3 separate regions of the Homo sapiens genome follow, and regions 1 and 2 are each linked to region 3. The links are contacts of gene promoters, found by promoter capture Hi-C in blood cells and fetal thymus (Javierre and others, 2016). All regions are on one chromosome and are shown on one strand. Each heading gives the region's core, a stretch centred on a gene start or on the middle of the fragment in contact. The rest is flanking DNA. Distances are from core to core; before and after follow the strand shown. Region 1 overlaps DYM (dymeclin). Region 2 overlaps LINC02837 (long intergenic non-protein coding RNA 2837). Region 3 holds the start of MBD1 (methyl-CpG binding domain protein 1).

Evidence for each region. Contacts are between HindIII fragments. The CHiCAGO score rates a contact against its expected background, and 5 or more counts as called.
Region 1: a fragment that was not itself captured here is called in contact with the fragment with the promoter of MBD1 in region 3 in 1 of 17 cell types (activated CD4 T cells); the score reaches 6.5 in activated CD4 T cells.
Region 2: a contact is called between a fragment that was not itself captured here and the fragment with the promoter of MBD1 in region 3, in 9 of 17 cell types (total CD4 T cells, naive CD8 T cells, non-activated CD4 T cells and 6 more). The highest score is 10.7, in total CD4 T cells.

Annotation. Positions count from the first base shown.
Region 1 is chr18:49,448,052-49,452,464 of GRCh38, reverse strand. The region is part of intron 1 of DYM (dymeclin); the gene reads left to right. Among named protein-coding and RNA genes, the nearest start is that of DYM, 10 kb to the left of the region's middle. The HindIII fragment of the contact is 1,333 bases long and covers 1,923-3,255 here.
Region 2 is chr18:49,501,707-49,505,612 of GRCh38, reverse strand. The region is part of intron 2 of LINC02837 (long intergenic non-protein coding RNA 2837); the gene reads right to left. Among named protein-coding and RNA genes, the nearest start is that of LINC02837, 4.3 kb to the right of the region's middle. The HindIII fragment of the contact is 1,708 bases long and covers 1,304-3,011 here.
Region 3 is chr18:50,279,855-50,284,259 of GRCh38, reverse strand. It overlaps MBD1 (methyl-CpG binding domain protein 1), which reads left to right and starts at 2,737. Exons shown (of 17, transcript NM_015846.4): 1 at 2,737-2,897; 2 at 4,243-4,377. The coding sequence starts at 4,268. CXXC1 (CXXC finger protein 1) reads left to right here. Exons shown (of 15, transcript NM_014593.4): 10 at 159-366; 11 at 445-555; 12 at 696-745; 13 at 899-995; 14 at 1,254-1,406; 15 at 1,521-1,913. The coding sequence ends at 1,667. RefSeq lists enhancers at 1,498-2,078, 2,079-2,659 and silencers at 2,805-2,914, 2,925-3,004. The HindIII fragment of the contact is 20,722 bases long and covers 1-4,405 here.

The DNA of each region.
Region 1 (4,413 bases), core at 1,340-3,839, 830 kb after region 3:
TCAAAACAGACCAATCAGCTCTCTGTAAAATGGACCAAATCAGCAGGATGTGGGTGGGGCCAGATAAGGGAATAAAAGCAGGCTGCCTGAACCAGCAATGGCAACCCGCTCAGGTCCCCTTCCACACTGCGGGAGCTTTGTTCTTTCACTCTTTGCAATAAATCTTGCTGCTGCTCACTCTTTGGGTCCACACTGCCTTTATGAGCTGTAACACTCACCGCGAAGGTCTGCCGCTTCACTCCTAAGCCAGCGAGAGCACGAACCCACCAGAAGGAAGAAACTCCGAACACATCCGAACATCAGAAGGAACAAACTCTGGACATGCCGCCTTGAAGAACTGTAACACTCACTGTGAGGGTCTGTGGCTTCATTCTTGAAGTCAATGAGACCAAGAATCCACCAATTCCAGACACACTGCCATGTATAACCCTACTGCAAATAGTAGAGTGAGTATAGCAATTCCCACAAGTGTGGTGTAGTAGATACTTTCCATCTAAAATTTTATTTGCCAAGGTATCCAGATTTTTGTGTTACCCATCTCTTTTTGTTTCTTGTAAGCTTCAGGAGATCACCACTTGATTCACAGGAATAAGCAGTGTTAGTCTAAAATGTAGGCACACAACTTAAAAACAATTAATGTGACTAGGATTTAATGACAAATGTATGATAAGCTTTGGAGCATATTTTCTCTCTCTAGTCCTGATTTTGGTAAAAACAAATTATGATAGGACCGTGTTGTTTGTAGAATAAACCTTAGTCTTATATTTGGCCTTGTTATTTGCATAAAGTTCAGCAAGAGTAATTATTTCTGCATAGTCCTTTTGGATTGGCTTCGATGGAACTCTGTTCCACAAGAAATCTCAGATAAGACTTCTTAAAGCTGAGCCCAGCATGGGTTTGTATCTTCAAATACCTGTGAGTTGGGTGATCCTTTTCTCTTAAGGTCCCAAGATAAACTTGGAGCTCCTGGACCTGTTAGAAAGTGACATTCTTTACTGACCAAAGGTTAGGAACCCTGTGCGGGGACTGTGTAGACAAGGTATGAGGCCAGTTCTTCCCATGGGGCTTTTTCAGCTCTGCAAGTGGAGGTTGACTCCTTAAAGGGAAGCATACACTTCCAGTCAAAGCCTTGATAAAATAGCCAGTTTTTCCATTTGTGTCCTGTTGAAAAAGAAAAATGGATTCTTATTTCACTGATGCAAACAACTATATTGCCATAAGTTAAGAGTTCTCACAGATTAGAGGAACCAGGCAGAGAGAAACAATCATGCTTCAAGTTTTGTTCACAGGAGTATACCTTACTCAATTATTAAAGGCTGTAAATAGTTCAAAATAAGTTTCCTTGACTCTGAAAAACAAACCAAGGATCAGCAATATTCCAAGCAAAAGTCAAAAAGATTGCTTTAGCTTTCTGAGTGTAGTCCATTTAGTCAATTCTTGTTTTGCTTGATATTTGTGAACATTTCAGTTCATGAGTCCTGTACGTTCTTTCTCTCTTCCAATGTTACAATCTTCAAAGCTGTTAAAAACCTGCATTTGAGGACACCTGTTGAAAGTCCTTAATATAGCTTGATTATAAACTGTCTTTTCAGAAGGAACAAAGCAAAACAACAATTGTCTGTGCATGACAAAATTTCCAGGTTACAGTTAAAAACATGACGGAAAAAGTTTAGTTAACCTTAATTATGATTGATAGTATATACTTAGACATTAGAATTTTAGAAATCCCATACAATTTTGGAACATATATTAGTATTATTCACCAAAATATAACTTAAAGAAGATTGGACATCGTTTTGGCAATTCTAATGTGACTAAACATGTCAGATAATCCTGTTTACCTCTTCTCTGGATGTTTCAGGGGCCTTCTGAACAATCCAGAAAGCCAGGCATCAGGAAGGACAATTTTGAAACTTGAAGCTTGATTTTGGGATGCCTTTTAAATGTTAGAGGTTTAAAACACTTGATGTTATGAAATAGAATTCCAAATTGCCATTATTTATTTTGCCAAAATGATGTCACAAAAGGAAAAAATCTTTCATCATCCTTTACTATTACATGAAAATCCTGTTTAAAGCCAAATTTTACCCTTGTATTAGTTTATTAAAGTTGTAAACAACCTTTTGATAAAACCTCATAGGAAAGTTCACCTAATCTTAACCAATGACCATGGGGTGAAGTCTTTACAAACCCTTTACAACCCCTTTTGTTAAACGGCAGATTAGTGTCTTAAGACAGCCTTGCCGTGTTTTTCTTTCAATGCTCAATTTAGGAAAAGACCATATAATACCCTTTTGAATTTAGTTAATGTTTATACATTTTTGCAAGATTAATTTTTGTCTTCCTGTAACTTGCTTAAACCTTTAGCTCTGTCTTATTAAATTTAAGATAATCTCTTATCCCTGGGCAAAATTTATATTTTCATGCTTTCTTATAATCTTTTACTAAAAAACACATTTCACTGTTTTTATAAGCCTTGCATATAAAACTTTAGAGATCTCAAATACATGTTGCACTGTTAACTCTCAGCAACTTTTACTTTAGGTAAAAAACCTGGTTAGTAAGTGATTTTAATTATATACCAGGTGTGGAGTCTAGGACCCAGACAAAGTCAGGCTTATGGGGTCCTGGGCCTGCATCCTAACCTAAGGTACCCTTTCTTTTGACAGAACGCTACAGAAAGACACACAAAGCACACCAGATTGGTTACAGCTTAAGACCAACCTCACAAATTCTTTTTTATTAATTAAAACTTTACAGAGAATAAACAATCATCCTTATTATCCTTGTTACTGGTTTGCACAGGAAGAGATAAGCCAAAATGTTGACTGGTAAAAAAACTTTTACCCTTTTGCCAGCATGTCAGGCTTCTGGGTTCCCTTCCCATTAGCTCAACTCTAAGTCAACCATTTTAAGGTTTGGGGAAATTAACTTTTCCTACTTTGGAGGAACATTATACAGGAAGAGATAGGAACCATTGTACACTGTGAAAGAAGGAAAAACACCATAGAAAAGTCTGGGGATTCCAGTTAGGGTTGTCAAGAGGTACCGCCTCTCTTCCTATTGGGAATTGTGTTTCTCTTATTTCTTTGCCTTCCCTATTTTCTCTTTTCGTTTTAGGCCTACTATAGGAAACGTTGCTTATCTTTCAATTTCTTTGCTGCCTGCTCTTCAGCTGTAATTAGGGTTTGGCTTAGAAGCAACATAAAATCTCTTCATGAGAGGTGAAACACCTGAGTTAAATTTTGGAAAGCTTCTATATACCTATCAGGGTCTTCAGAAAATTGGCCTCAGTCACCTTTATTTGCCTAAGGTCTTGCAAAGAGGAGGGAACTTGAACCCTAGTGACATCACCTCCATTGGGCATTTCCTGTAGAGGTAAGAGTGAAAGTGGGGAGTGGGAAATTTTGGAGATGGTGGAGGTGGAAGAACTGGTGGTATGGTTGGAGGTGGCCCTAAATAAGGGGGACTTGAAGGGCTGGGACACCCAATAGCTGCCTCAGATGATTTCCCCAGAAGTTGCTTCTCTCATTTTGGGGAATTATTCTCTTTGGGCCTGCTCAATATGATTGCTAAAAGGGCTGGGTTAATTCTGTAACGCTTGCAAAGGTCTAGTAAAAAGGCCATGCCCTGTGCAAAAGAAAATGAGCTGCTTTTTAAAGTTTCAGGGTCAAAGAAATCCTTGTGCTTCAGAATGCACTCCAGGGGAGTGCAGGATGAAGATGGTACCCACTTAGAGAAAAAGGTGGCCCTTTAGTCTCCTTCCTTTTGGTGTGACCCATGGTGGAGAGGAAGCAGTGGGGGCATCCCCCCTGCTTTTTTCCCCCTGTGTTTCCTGGGTCCCAGGCACCTTGTTGAACATGCTGCCCATGGTTGCAAGTGTGACCCCCAGTCATGGAACCAGAGGAACTAAGTCACTGGGGCTAGTCATGCTCACCCAAGTGGCTGTAGTCCTCTGCCTGTGATTTCCCTTTAACTTCCTAGACTTGTGTGACTTGCCTGGCTTCCTGAAAAATGGATTTCAAGAAAAACTACATAATAGTTGGGCAAGGCCCCTTTAATGCAGGGGATGTGCTAGATTGAACTCTGTATCCTGCTATTATGGCCTGTGCTGAAGCATTTACCCTTAGATAATGGTTCCAGTTAACTTCCAAACTTAAAATTCCCTTACTAATTAAGTACTACTCTAATTGAAGGCAGAATAGGTGGCTTAAAAAAACTTAGGGATTGAATGGCCATTTTCCTGCTGATGAGACAGTATTGAGACTAAATTTTGGCTTTGGAGGAATATTTTACCCCTAATTGTTGAAGGCAGAGTTTTCTCATTTACAGAACCAGCATAAAGCCTGGTTTCTAGTAGAGAGGCACAAAAAGGAAAGAGAATTGGGAGGCTAGGATGTTTCATTGGACTGA
Region 2 (3,906 bases), core at 908-3,407, 780 kb after region 3:
TATAATCCCAGCTACTTGGGAGACTGAGGCAGGAGAATCACTTGAACCCAGGAGGCGGAGGTTGCAGTGAGCTGAGATTGCACCATTGCACTCCAGCCTGGGCAACAATTGCAAAACTCCATCTCAAAAAAAAAAAAATATTCTTAGGGTTTGGGGCTTTTTTGGGGGGGGTTGGGGTGTAACTATGGTAAATGGGATTACCTTTTAAATTTTTTTTCTTTTTTTTGAGATGGGAGTCTTGCTATGTTGCCCAAGCTGGTCTGAACTACTGGGCTCAAGCAATCTGCCTGCCTCAGCCTCCCGAGTAGCTGGGATTACAGACGTACACCATTGTGCCATCTTGATTTCTTTTCTTGTTTGTGTCTAGAAATGCTACTTGTTTTTGAATACTGATTTTGTATCCTGCAACTTTACTAAATTCACTTATTAGTTCTGAGACTTATTGAGTAGAGTCTTTATATTTTTCTCGTTTTTTGAGACAGAGTCTTGCTCTGTTGCCCAGGCTGGAGTGTGGTGGTGTGATCTCGGCTCTCTGCAACCCCCACCTCCCAGGTTCAAGTGATTTTCCTACCTCAGCCTCCTGAGTAACTGGGATTACAGGCATGCACCACCACGCCCAGCTAATTTTTTTGTATTTTTAGTAGAGACAGGGTTTCGCGATGTTGACCAGTCTAGTCTCAAACTCCTGACCTCAAGTGATCCACCATCCTCTACCACCCAAAGTGCTGGGATTACAGGCATGAGCCACTGCGTCCGGCCTGATTTTTCTATATATAAAATCATGTCATCTGTAAACAGGGACTATTTTACTTCCTTCTTTTCAAATTGAATGTCCTTTTTTCTTTCTTTTGCCTAATTGCTCTGGCTAGGACTTCCAGTATTATGTTGTAATTCAAGAAATATTTGTTGAGAACTTATCATAAACAAAAAAATTATTCTAGGCACTAGAGGAAAAAAAAACAGACAAGAACTATGTCTTCTGCCAGGCACAGTTGCTCATGCCTGTAATCCCAGCACTTTGGAAGGTCGAGGTGGGCGGATCACCTGAGCTCAGGAGTTCGAGACCAGCCTGGCCAAAATGGCGAAACCCCCTCTCTACTAAAAATACAAAAATTAGCCGTGGTGGCATGCGCCGGTAATCCCAGCTACTGGGGAACCTGAGGCAGGAGAATCATCGAAACCCGGGAGTCGGAGGTTGCAGTGGGCCAAGATCACGCCACTATACTCCAGCCTGGGCGACAGAGCAAGGCTCTGTCTCAGAAAAAAAAAAAAAAAAAAAAAAGAACCATGTCTTCATGAAGCTTACATTTTTTGAAAAGGAGATAGAAATTTAAGAAGAAAACTAATAAATGTGATAATTTCATTCAGTGAGATATGTTGTGAAGACAATAAAACAAGATTATGTCAGAGAGGAGCTCCATAGACTGAGTGTCAGGGAAGGAGTTAAGGCTTCAGTGACTGGAAGAAGCCAACACGTGAAGACCTAGTTGTAAATCATTGGAAGGAAGGGCAAAAGCAAAGGCATCAAGACAGGAATGAGTTGACTGTATCCCTGAAGCAGCAAGGAGCCAATGTGGCTGGAGCAAAGTCAGTGCAGAGGAAAAGTATAGGAAATGAGGGCCTGGAGCTAGATCAGCCTGCACAGCACAGTAAGCAGTTTGGACTTTATTGGGTGTGAAATGTGAAGTCTTTCAAGGGTTTTAACCTGGGAAGTGCTTTGGAGAGAAGTGGGGAGTGTTATATTATATAGTTTATATTTTTTAAAGATTACATTTTCTGGTTATAGTTATCATAGTTCTAGAAACTGTATTTTAGGACAACCAAATCACCCCAGTTAATAAGAGAAAGCTCTTTTTACAAAGAATGCCAAGCTATTCAGATTAAAGAAAAATAAAGAGACATGGCAACCAAACACAATGCCTTATTCTGAATTTGGCTCTTCGTCCAAAAAAAATTCTATAAAAGATATTGTTGGGAAAATTGGCGGCAATTAAATATGGTCTCTAGGTTAGATAATATTATTATAGTAAATGTTAAATTTTCTGATTCTAAAACTGATTATGAAAGAGAACAACCTGGCCAGGCACGGTGGCTCATGCCTGTAATCCCAACACTTTGGAAAGCCGAGACGGGCAGATCACCTGAGGTCAGGAGTTCAAGACCAACCTGGCCAACATAGTGAAACCCAGTCTGTACTAAAAATACAAAAATTAGCCAGGCGTGATGGTGGGCGACTGTAATCCCAGCTACTCAGGAGGCTGAGGCAGGAGAATCACTTGAACCCCGGAGGCAGAGGTTGCAGTGAGCCGAGATCGCGCCAATACACTCTAGCTTGGGTGACAGCAAGCCTCTGTCTCAAAAATAAAATAAAAAGAAACAACAACCAGATGTCATGTGGGACCTAGATTGGGTCTTGCTTTGTTTCTGGTTTTTTTGTGTGTGTGTGGCTGCTTTGGTTGGTTGGTTTGTTTGTTTGTTTGTTTGTTTGAGACAGAGCCTTGCTCTGTCACCCAGGCTGGAGTGTAGTGACATGATCTCAACTCACTGCAACCTCTGTCTCCCAGCTTCAAGCAATTCACATGCCTCAGCCTCCAGAGTAGCTGGGACTACAGGTGTGTGCCACCACACCCTGCTAATTTTTTCTATTTTTAGTAGAGACAGGGATTCACCATGTTGGCCAAGCTGGTTTCGAACTCCTGGCCTCAAGTGATCTGCCTGCCTCAGCTTCCCAAAGTGCTGGGATTACAGGTGTGAGTCAGTGTGCCTGGCGGGTCTTGCTTTGAACAAACCAACTGGAAAGGACATTTGGGGAACAACTGGGATAACTGAAATTGAGGTTAGGTATTAGAAGAGATGAAAATGTATCAACATGGTAAAATTGAGATTAACTGGAAAAAAATCTGATTATGAAATAGCATGTACAGTATAATTTCACCTGGTAAGTATATATGTATATACATACACACATGAAGTATATATCTCACACTATACTAGAAGGATATATTAAAGCTTAATCTTTTGGAAATATAAGGATTTTATTTTCTTAATCTGCTTACCTGCTATATCTGACTTTCTATAAAACACATATAAATAATCTTAAATTTTTGAATAATTTTAAAATTTTACTTATTATTTATTTATTTATTGAGATGGAGTCACTCTGTCACCCAGGCTGGAGTGCAATGGTGCGATCTTGGCTCACTGCAACATCTGCCTCCCGGGTTCAAGAGATTCTCCTGCCTCAGCCTCCCGAGTACCTGGGATTACAGGCACGCACCACCATGCCCGGCTAATTTTTTCTTTTCTTTTCTTTTTTCTTTTTCTTTTTTTTTTTTGAGACAGAGACTCGCTCTGTCACCCAGACTGGAGTGCAGTGGTGCGATCTCGGCTCACTGCAACCTCCGCCTCCCAGGTTCAAGCCATGCTCCTGCCTCAGCCTCCCAAGTAGCTGGGACTACAGGCGTGTGCCACCATGCCCGGCTAATTTTTTGTATTTTTAGTAGAGAGAGATGGGGTTTCACCGTGTTAGCCAAGATAATCTCCATCTCCTGACCTCGTGATCCACCTGCCTTGGCCTCCCAAAGTGCTGGGATTACAGGCGTAAGGCATCTTGCCTGGCAACTTTTTCTATTTTTAGTAAAGACAGGGTTTCACCATGTTGGCCGGGCTGATCTTAACTCCTGGCCTCAAGTGATCTGCCACCCCGGCCTCCCAAAGTGCTGGGGATACAAGCGTGAGCCACCGCACCTGGCCAATTTTAAATTTTTTAATAAATAAATTGCTCTGGCTGTTCTAGATGGATTACAGGGGCAATCAAGAGTGGAAGTAGGTTGTCTAGTTGATCAGCAATATGCTTTTCAGTATCTGTTTCCCAAGTCTAGGTGGAAGCCAGATTCTTGCTGGAAA
Region 3 (4,405 bases), core at 1,488-3,987:
ACTCACCCATCCACCTACCCACCCACCTGCCCGTGTGTCCATCCAGCCACCATTCCGCCAGTCACCTATTTACTTCTCCTTTTGCCATTTGCGTCTATTTTGCCATTCTCACTTACTGATCACCTCACTCATTCTGTTGCTTGCTACCTTCCCTGCAGCCGCATCTACGAGATCCTCCCCCAGCGCATCCAGCAGTGGCAGCAGAGCCCTTGCATTGCTGAAGAGCACGGCAAGAAGCTGCTCGAACGCATTCGCCGAGAGCAGCAGAGTGCCCGCACTCGCCTTCAGGAAATGGAACGCCGATTCCATGAGCTTGAGGCCATCATTCTACGTGCCAAGCAGCAGGCTGTGCGCGAGGATGAGGAGGTGAGCAAGCAGGGGCGCAGCAGAGCAGGGCCTGTACTTTGTCCTTCCCAGCCTTATTGTTCCTTCCATTCCATGCAGAGCAACGAGGGTGACAGTGATGACACAGACCTGCAGATCTTCTGTGTTTCCTGTGGGCACCCCATCAACCCACGTGTTGCCTTGCGCCACATGGAGCGCTGCTACGCCAAGGTTGGGGTGTCAGACTGAGGGGGCGGACCATGTGGGAACATCAGTGGGCCAGTGGGGGACAGATTTGTTGTCTGGGTGGTGTCTTGGGAGGGCATGCAGCGCACATCCACAGTTCCCTCCATTTGTGCTCATCCCTCCAGTATGAGAGCCAGACGTCCTTTGGGTCCATGTACCCCACACGCATTGAAGGGTAAGTGAGGGTGCCACGCAGTGAGAGGTGGGGGGTTAAGGCGGGGGTCAGAAGTGGGATGTGTGTGGAGCTGGGGCAGGATACGGGCAACCAGCCAGGACAGATGGACCTCCCTTCCCTCCCTCTACTGCCCTCTCTACTCCAAATCCCCAGGGCCACACGACTCTTCTGTGATGTGTATAATCCTCAGAGCAAAACATACTGTAAGCGGCTCCAGGTGCTGTGCCCCGAGCACTCACGGGACCCCAAAGTAAGGTTTTCCCTCAGCTCCTCCCATTTTGCCCCTCCTCCCTGCCTCGCTGTCCCACATTCATCCCTTCCTTCCTCACCTCACTTTTCCTTCACTTTTTCCTCTCAGCTTCCCTGCTGCTTCACCCTCCATTCCTCCTTTTCCATGCCTCCTCACCGTTCCCTGAACCCTCCATTCTTTTCCTTCTCCCTCCTTGAGCCCCCATTCCTATTCTCCCTTATCACCGCTATTCATCCCCCCAACCTGGCCTCCTTGCAGGTGCCAGCTGACGAGGTATGCGGGTGCCCCCTTGTACGTGATGTCTTTGAGCTCACGGGTGACTTCTGCCGCCTGCCCAAGCGCCAGTGCAATCGCCATTACTGCTGGGAGAAGCTGCGGCGTGCGGAAGTGGACTTGGAGCGCGTGCGTGTGGTAGGTTTCTGTGCGGTTTTGGTGCTGCATGTGGTAGGTTTCCATGTCGGACGTGGCCGGGGCAGGCGGGGCTGCAGGTGTTCCTGCTTAGGACTCCTGCCGCTCCCTTGGCAGTGGTACAAGCTGGACGAGCTGTTTGAGCAGGAGCGCAATGTGCGCACAGCCATGACAAACCGCGCGGGATTGCTGGCCCTGATGCTGCACCAGACGATCCAGCACGATCCCCTCACTACCGACCTGCGCTCCAGTGCCGACCGCTGAGCCTCCTGGCCCGGACCCCTTACACCCTGCATTCCAGATGGGGGAGCCGCCCGGTGCCCGTGTGTCCGTTCCTCCACTCATCTGTTTCTCCGGTTCTCCCTGTGCCCATCCACCGGTTGACCGCCCATCTGCCTTTATCAGAGGGACTGTCCCCGTCGACATGTTCAGTGCCTGGTGGGGCTGCGGAGTCCACTCATCCTTGCCTCCTCTCCCTGGGTTTTGTTAATAAAATTTTGAAGAAACCAAGGAAGCTGTCTCCACATTGCTGCGGTTGCAACTGTTCCAGACTTCTGGATAAGATGGGGGGCGCCTGCACCCCGCGAGAGCCCAGGGACCCACATTCCCAGCCTCCCACGGGCAGAGGGTCTACGCAGCGCGCCTTCAGTGTGGTGACACCGCCCATGCATGCTCCTGTCTCCCACCCAGAGCTGTCGTCCGCTGTGGACGCCAGGCCCCGCCTTTTCCCCACAAGCCCCACGTTGGGGATCCGCCTCCTGCAGGGGCGCGCCCTCCCGCGTGCCTCAGTTTACCTGCGGTGTGGCACCGCCCCTTTCCCCGCCCCGCGCGCTCCCACAGCTGTTCGGCGGGGAGGAGGGAGCGGGACACGACCCCCCCTGGGGTTGATGTTCGGAGGGACCCACGAACACAGGATAGACCCCAGCGAGAGGTGGGAGAGGAGAGCGCCGGCAGGGCCAGGGAGTGCGCAGGCGCGAAGCAGCTTCCTTGCCGCGTTCGGTATCGGCTGTGGAGACCGCGGGAGGGAAGGGAGGGCGCAGGCGCAAGCCCTCCCCGACCGCTTCCCTTCAGGTTGAGGCTGGAAAGCGCATGCGCCAGCTAGATGGGCAGCGAGGAGAGCCGCAACTGCCAGTCCCTCGAAGGGGTTAGCTGTCGTTGAACGTCAGCACGCAGATGCAACTGGCTCTCGGCAGGGGGGCGCGCGCACCGCTGCGGAGCGCCGGCCCGTAGGCGCGGGAGCCTCCCTATTAAGGGCACGCGACATCGAGGCAATAGTGCGCAGGTGCTTAGCCAGAGGCGGAGCCCGAGAGGCAGGCAGCGGACTTCCGGTTCCGGGAGCAACGAACAGCCGCGGAGGCGACAGCTACCGCTTCAGAGGAGGCGGCCGCGGAGGAGGAGGAAGGGGAGGAGGGCGAGGCGGGAGGTGCAGGAGGGACCCTCGCCATGGGTCCACGGGCCTAGAGTGGCGGAAGATACCGGCCTGGTGCCAAACTGGTGAGACAGCCTTGGGGCTGGACGTGGAGAGCGCTCAGGCGGAGGATGGGAAGGAATTGTGGCTCAGAACGCTGACGGGGAGGAATGAAGGGCCCTCAGGCCGATAAGGGGGAGGAATGGCGGCGTCGGAATACTGACGAGGAGAAATGGGGGGATTTAGGCTGAGGACGGGAAGGAATGCAGCTCTGAACTCTGACAGGTAGGAGTGTCGGGATCCTGGGACGAGGACGGAGAGGAATGGTGGAGATCAGAACGCTAAAGGGAGACATCGGGGCATCTGAAGTTGAGAGAGAAATGGGGGTTCAGAACTCTGAGAGGGAGAAATGAGGGGCCCTCAGGCTGATGACAGGAGAAATAGAGGCTTTGGAATGCTGAAAGGGAGGAATAGGAGGCCCCATATAGAGGACGAGGAGCAGTAGGGGATCAGAATGGTGACAGTTAGGGATGGCATGATCCCGGGACAAGAACAGAGAGAATGGAGGAGGGTTCGGAATGCTGAGGGGAGAAATTAGGGTCTCTCTGGATGATAAGGGAGGAATGGAGGATGAGAACAGTAAGGAGGAGAAGTGGGGAACTTTTTGGCTGTAGAGGAAGGTTTGGGAGCTCAGACTAGGGAGAAATTGTGGGTGAGAACATTGAAGGAGAAGAAAAATAAGGGGGGAGGTCTTGGGCTGAGGAAGGGGAGGCATGGGAGGCTTCCAGTGTGAGGAATGGAAAAGATGAGGGGCTGTTCAGGCTATGGGTTGGAGCAGTTGTGTCTCGCAGAGGAAGTCGAGGTTGTAACACTGAGGTAGCAGGATAAGAGGACATCAGGCAGAGAAGGAATGGAGTGGTTAAAACACTGAAGGAGGGAAATTAGGAACTCCTGGGTCAAGGAAGGGGGGAATGAGAGACTACTGAAGTCAAGTAGTGAGGGCAAGAGAAATGGGGCCCTTTGGGGCTGAGGATGGGGACTATGGGGGTCTTGGGGTGATAAAATAGAGGGATAGAGGCCCTTAGGTCAGTGACAGGGAGGAATGAGGGGGAAGGATGAAAAGTTTCTGGATTGGCAGTGAGGAGAAATGATGGGTTGTCAGTCTGAGGATAGAGAGGAGTAGGGGATTAGGACACTGAGAATAAGAAACAGGGATCCTTGGGTTGAGGAATGATGATATCCTAGGCCCAGAATAGGAAAGAATGGGGTGAGAATATGAGGGGTTTCTTTTCCATATATGGGCTGGTTGCCTGTGGCAGGTCCTAGGGCTTGGGCAAGCACTAATGGATACCAGTGATTTGTGTGGCCTGGGGCACAGTGTTGTCCCTTCCTAGAGCCTCAGTTTCCCTCATCCCTTCCACCCCCTTTCAGGCTACTGCTGCTTCCTGTGGCCTCCATGGCTGAGGACTGGCTGGACTGCCCGGCCCTGGGCCCTGGCTGGAAGCGCCGCGAAGTCTTTCGCAAGTCAGGGGCCACCTGTGGACGCTCAGACACCTATTACCAGAGGTACTGGGTGGGTAGTGGGCAGAGTCAG